2 separate regions of the Homo sapiens genome follow, and region 2 is linked to region 1. The links are contacts of gene promoters, found by promoter capture Hi-C in human tissues and cell types (Jung and others, 2019). All regions are on one chromosome and are shown on one strand. The core of a region is centred on a gene start or on the middle of the fragment in contact, and the rest is flanking DNA. Distances in the headings are between cores, read along the strand shown. Region 1 holds the start of RPS19BP1 (ribosomal protein S19 binding protein 1). Region 2 overlaps ENTHD1 (ENTH domain containing 1).

Region 1 (3,162 bases), core at 531-3,030:
CATGTGGAAGGCAGGAGACCGGCTAGGCTTCTGCAATAATTCAGGCAAGAGACGATGCAGCTTGGAGCAAAGTGGCAGCTGCAGAGGTGTTCTTTCCATTGGCTGCGAGGCTTGCCATTCCTCTCACTCAGCATCTATGTGCCAAAACCTGTGGTGGACACCAAGGCTGCGGACAAGCCCAAGGAGGTGTGTGCCTTTAGGAGCTTCCATCCAACAGGGGAGGTGGGTGAGCACCCAGGACACGACAGTGAGACAAGGGCTGGGACAGATGGGAATGACCTCTGGCACTCCACACTCCTGCTTCATGGCAAGTATCGCTGGGGCTCAAACCTGTCTCACTTTCCTGCCTCCAGACTTTGGCTTAAGTTGTATTTCCTCCTTGGAATTCATAATTCTTTTAACAAATACTTTAACATCTTTTATGCATTAGACTCTAGGGATTCAGACACAGTAAGAGCTTGCCACGTCCTGACACATGTCAAAATATCACCATCTTGCCTACACCAGCCCCTCCGAAAGTCTTTATGTCTATTAAGTGACACTACGTCCCCCAAGAAACTAGGCTCCACCTTCACAGCCAATTCACCACTAAAACCCCTCTAAAGGCTGAAATTCTCTGCTGCCCCCTCTTTAACATATTTTCCACCTGCACAATTCTCTTGTTATCTCTGCTGCTATAGCCACTGCCCAGGCCACAGCATGTCCTATTTCAATGGAGTAGGTAATAGCAGCACTCTGGAGACACAATGCCCGGGCAGCCACAATGCCTGTACCACCTGGGCAGGTGCCTTTTTCTGAATCTGTAAAACGGGGGTGATAGTAGTATCGACCTCAAAGGGCTGCTGTAAGGATCAAACGAGCTTACATTTGTACAGCACTTAGAATCAGCACCTGGTACAGAGTGTTAGTGAATGTGTTTAAATGCTCCATCTTTGATCCTCATTCACTAGGTCACCTTTACCAGCCTTTATTTTTTCAAATTCTCAAAGGCAACAACCTCCTTTCTGACTCAGGACCTTTGCACATACTATTCTTCCTAGAATATTCTCCTACTTTTCACCTAGCTCACTCTTATACATCCTTCAGCTCTCGGCTGAAATGTCGCTTCCTCAGAGAAGGCTGACTTGGCCTAAGTCCCCATCAGAGTACCGTAGTCTTTTAATTCATAGGCTTCAATGCACTTAGCAATGACACACTGGGTTTGATATTCTTTGATGCTTCTCTCCCCACTAGGGCCGTAGTCCACGAGGACCAGGACGGTGGCGTGTTCTGTCACCTTCGTATGTCCAGGGCCCCGCTCCGCGCCTGGCACACAGTAGGTCTAGCAATACCGGGCGAACGCTTCAAGCCCTGCCTCAAGCGCCACCTCCTCTGGGGCGCAGGTCCCAGCACCGGAGGCAGCACTTTCAGCCCCTTCCCGAACTTACCCAGTGCCGACTTGGGCACCTTTCCCTTGGCCGAGTTCCGCAGTTTCTGGGCCTGAATTGCCTTCGTCTTCCGGGGCCGTTTCACCGGAGCCCCTCTCGGCTTGGCCTGACCTGGAGGGTCCCGGGGGGCTGTAGGGGAAGAGAGAGGAAGAGACCCAGGTCAGAGGGCGCGCAGCGTTCCCATGCCACTGGGGCTAAGCCCGGCCTGGATTGTTTTCCATCCAGGGCTCCCGCCCGCAGCCACTACCATCCTCCTGCCCGCGCCGGACGTCCCCTGGCCAGCCCTCCTCACCCTCGGACGCCGCCAGCAGCTCCAGGCCCCGCCGCAGCAGGGCGGCGGACATGGCGGCGCTTGGCTCCGCCCACGAGCCTCACACTACTTCCGACCTGGCAGTCCCTGTCGTCTCGGCGGAAACCCGAGCCCGAACAGAGGGATCCGGAGGGGGATGGGCGGAAGTGCCCATCTTTCTTAGGACGCATGCGTTAGGGGTTTACACTTGAGCGGAAGAAGGGGCGGAAACTGGAGGCGGGTCCAAGGCGCAGAAAGACACATGTGTTACTCAATCCCAATCTACCTGGCTCCTGGCGCTCAGTCCCCTCCTTCCCCGGAAGCCGTCCGCAACCTGCTCCGCCGGGTTGGCCAATCCTCTCGGGTCTCGTGGCTCCGTGGCGGGCTAGGATGGGGACAGGGCGGAGTGTTTTTCATATACTTCAACCAGCACTAGGTATCGCACAGGTTGAGTGCAGCATGAGAATCCAGTTGTCTTCCCTTAAGCCAGACATTAAAGACATATCTTTGTTTTGAAAACTACAATTATTTCTCATAAAATACGTTGTTTATGTTACCAAGCAATGGGTTTATTGTCATTTTAAGTGAATTAATGAATATGTAAAATTTTTGTTTTAGTTTCTAGTATGGCAAATATCAGTTGCCTACATACAAAAGTTCTTTGGGATCCTGAATTTTTTAAAATTTATTTTATTTAATTAAATTAATTTTTTTTTTGAGACGGAATCTCGCTCTGTCGCCCAGGCTGGAGTGCAGCGATCTCGGCTCACTGCAACTTCCGCCTCCCGGGTTCAAGCGATTCTTTTGCCTTAGCCTCCCGAGTAACTGAGATTACAGACGCCCGCCACCACGGCCGGCTAATTTTCTTTTTAAAAAATTTTTAGTAGAGACGGGGTTTTGCCATGTTGGCCAGGCTGGTCTTGAACTCCGGACCTCAAGTGATCCGCCCACCTCAGCCTCCCAAAGTGCTGGGATTACAGGAGTGAGGGGATTCTGAAGTTTTAAATGTAAGAAGCTTCTTAGACCAAAACATTTGAGCCCCTCTGGCCTAGAAGTGACACTGCTTACCTGGGGGAGGAGCCCTGGGCTTGTTCGCTGCTCCATCTGCAGCTGGCAGCCCAGCACCTGGCATGGAGAAGACACGCAATAAGTGAACGGTGAATCAGAAGGGACCACTGGGTTCACTCAGCCGGGTTCTGAGGGCCTTCTGTGTACTTGACACCACAGAGTGTGGGACCTGGAGTTCGTCCTCCGGGATAGACCACACCGTTTAAGCTCCATCGGCTAGAGAGTAATAATAACAACCAACACAAACTCAAGCATTTGTGCTGTTCTACGTGCTTTACATTTGTTAACTTGTTTATCCCCCCTACCCTTCCAGGTAGGAATTGTCTTTTGCATTTTACAGACGAGGAAACAAACACAGAGAGGCGAAGGTCACACGGG
Region 2 (3,573 bases), core at 804-3,303, 310 kb after region 1:
ATTATATGGTAAATATTTTCCAAAAATTGAATGAACCAAATCTGAGGTTCTGTAGAGTTGATGAAAGTATATTTACAGCATATGATACAATAAAATTATTTTCTCAAAAAATTGTATTGACAGATATACTGCAATTAATATTTTAATTTTTCTCACACTTTCTGAGTATATTCGGTTAAATTAAAGTATAACAGGTTTAATTAATAGTTATTTAATAAATTTTAGTATGAATTTTTTTGGTATTCTTCCCAGAAATTGAGAAAGTAAATTACTCCTTATGACTGTTTAACAAGTCTTTTTCTAAGTAGGGTGTTTCTAATTCTTTGCTTTTAGCAACACTGAAAAATGACTTCATCAAGTTAACAGTCAACAAGAGATAAAAATATATTTTATAATAAATCACTATATAATTTCCAGCATATTACTTGGAAGAAATTCATAGAATTGACTGACACTATTATAATAAAGCACCTTCTTGTCCCATCTATGATTTAGGTGAACAAGTTTTCTCAGCATTTATCTTTATACAAATATAAATAAAATAGAGGCAGGATTTCTGCTGAGCCCTGCTTGTAGCTAGCAATCAGTCACACTCCTATGTGGGCAAACGAGCAGTTCCAATTATCTCATAAAACCATATATTTCTAATAAAATTATATTTAACAAATATTCATACAAATTTATAATGCATTTATGTGGTTTTGATTGACTGCATACTAACAATAATTGTAATAAGTCAATCTAGAAGAAATATTAAAACCTTTGGTCAGAGAAAATTTAGAAAAATAATTTCAATTTTATATCTATTTGATGTAGAGAAGATTTCCAAGCATAAAAATATTTTATATTAGAATAAAATTCTGCAAGAAATGTAGAATAAACATATGACTTCAGAGAGAAAAGGGAATAATGTAAAATTTCTAACAGTTAAGGACTTCATGTATTTTTTTTTAAATGAATGACTACAGTTATCAATCACAATGGTATTTAGATTCCCTTAGATACATTTAAAAGATGGATATAACTTAACAGTTTGCTTGTTTTTTCTTTTCTTTTGTCCTTAATGTCAATATTTACAACGTGCCAGAATTATATCCTTTGCAGTTATTTATACTTATAAAACTTCATATATCAACTCAAAAATGTGTGAGGAGGTACATAGTGTTTCAAAATCATTTTAGGGGTTATGCAAAACAAAAAAAAATACTGAAAAGCGGTAATATAAGGCACAGTCTTTACCTTCTAGAAGTTTATAGCCTGACTAGGTATATAAGTCTAACATACAGACTTACAGGAAACAGAGAACAATTATATGCTAAACGTTCTTGAATTAATTAATTTTAGGAACAGATACTCTAAGGAGGAAAACAACAATGTGCACCAGAGTAATCAAAAACAACCACAAAGAGGAAGTAAAATTTGAACAAGGCTTTGAAGGACGGCTAGGATTCCAATAAGGGTAGAGGCAAAGATAAATTACTCCGAGCAGAAGGACCTACGTGGGCAAAGGGAGAAAGTATGGTAGATGCCAGAGATACTGAAGAAATAAGAATCTTTCATTTATGGTTGTAACTTTTCATTTTGTTTTAACTTCACATAAAAGTGAATAATTAAAATGAGCTTATTTGGGGCTTGGAGATTTTGTAGCTAATATTGGCAAAGAGTGGTGACTTGGGGCTTAGATCATCTATCTACTTTCACTGGATTTAATCAACTACATTATCACTTGCTCGGCATTCAGCAACTAAATTATCTTGGAAATCATATGGTCTTAGGTTTTAGACATTACAGAAGTAGATTAGTAAAAATGTCAGATGGTCAATTTTGAAGTAAATTTTGAGAGAAACTGAAGAATAGCAAGAAATGTGAAAGAAAAAATATCTTGCATGTTGGAGATGCATTTTGGCCTAGAATAGCCTAAATGTAGTAAACCTATCTTATGAGGCAAGAAAGAAAGCAATTAGAATATAGTGGGTCTATGGAAACTCATTAAATTTTTCTTTCAGTATCAGATAGCATAACACTGGAAGTGAGGTGTGCTTAATTAGATTTGGTAATTACACAACATTTATTTCTGGATTTTCACAAGCAAGTAGGAGAGAACATACATTTAGTTCCTTATAGTTCCTTAGTGGAAATGAGATCCCTTTGGTCTTGTAAGCTACTTATCAATTGACACTGTGAAGTCACAAGCCAGTGAAGACTAGTATGTGAATGAGAAACCTCAGAGGAAAAAGTAATGATGCTGCAGGAAATGAAGCCATTGAGTCATTCAAAGATGAGTGCTTCGATACCAAGGTTGTAAGTACTTTGTGGAAACTATCTAGAAAGAAGCTGTACATCCCACTGAGCCCGCACCACTCAGATAATACCACAAAGCAGAACTTGTGAACCCTCCGATATTTCTTAGATGAGATATCAAACTGACGTTCAAATTATCAGGCATTAGCAATGCACCATACATTTTGGAAATGCAACGCTCCATAAGTTGAACAGATTTCCAAATTGTTCCATTTATTATTTAGCATATAATAACCATGTCCTTTTAGGTGTAATGTAAGTGAATTAAATAATTTGCTTAAAAAATTAATTTTTAGTAACAGACAGATATATTGCATTATAGAAAATATTCAGTGGGCTAAGGAAGAGCTAGTAAGATCTAAAAGTCAAGTCTCATGGTGCTTAAATTTATATCTAACTTTTACAGAATTGTGAATTTGGAACCTTGACTCCAATTTCGTTGTTTTGGCACATAGTTAAGCATCTTTTTTTTTTTTTGAGACGGAGTCTCGCTCTGTCGCCCAGGCTGGAGTGCAGTGGCGTGATCTCAGCTCACTGCAAGCTCCGCCTCCCAGGTTCACCATTCTCCTGCCTCAGCCTCCCGAGTAGCTGGGACTACAGGCACCCACCACTGCCCCTGGCTAATTTTTTGTATTTTTAGTAGAGACAGGGTTTCACCGTGGTCTCGATCTGCTGTCCTCGTGATCCACCCACCTCGGCCTCCCAAAGTGCTGGGATTACAGGTGTGAGCCACCGCGCCTGGCTAACTTAAGCATCTTAAAGTAGTTGGTATTTGTCATATTTTTTTTAACTTTGATTTTGTAATAATTTTAAGCTTACAGAAAAGTAACAAGAATAGTACAAAGAATGCCCATATGGTCTTCATCCCAGATTCACCAATTGTTAACATTTTGCCCCATTTGCTTTATTCTCTATTCTCATTATCTATTTATGTACACATATTATTACTGTCCTATATTTTAAATCTAGAGGAAAAGCCATTGTAGGTTGGGTTCCCTAGGAAACAGACTCTCAGACTCAGATTTGCATGTGGGAGAGCCATTAGGGAGCGCTCTTAGAAACTACCAGTGAGTCTAAGTCTCTTTGTAGGTCACTCAGGACTTGCTTTATGAATCTGGGTGCTCCTGTATTGGGTGCATATATATTTAGGATAGTTAGCTCTTCTTGTTGAATTGATCCCTTTACCATTATGTAATGGCCTTCTTTGTCTCTTTTGATCTTTGTTGGTTTAAAGTCTGTTTTATCAGAGACTAGGATTGCAACCCCTGCCTT

What was found. The method cuts DNA at HindIII sites, captures the fragments that hold promoters and counts their contacts. A contact is called where the count stands out against the background at its distance.
Region 2: a fragment that was not itself captured here is called in contact with the fragment with the promoter of RPS19BP1 in region 1 in 1 of the 25 tissues and cell types used here (IMR-90 fibroblasts).

The regions. Positions count from the first base shown.
Region 1 is chr22:39,530,968-39,534,129 of GRCh38, forward strand. RPS19BP1 (ribosomal protein S19 binding protein 1) reads right to left here and starts at 1,781. Exons shown (of 4, transcript NM_194326.4): 1 at 1,720-1,781; 2 at 1,428-1,556. The coding sequence starts at 1,771. RefSeq lists enhancers at 995-1,510, 1,511-2,026, 1,816-1,875, 1,926-1,975 and silencers at 1,236-1,365, 1,546-1,705. The HindIII fragment of the contact is 6,935 bases long and covers 1-3,162 here.
Region 2 is chr22:39,837,995-39,841,567 of GRCh38, forward strand. All of the region lies in intron 3 of ENTHD1 (ENTH domain containing 1), which reads right to left. Among named protein-coding and RNA genes, the nearest start is that of ENTHD1, 54 kb to the right of the region's middle. RefSeq lists an enhancer at 1,316-1,365. The HindIII fragment of the contact is 3,011 bases long and covers 549-3,559 here.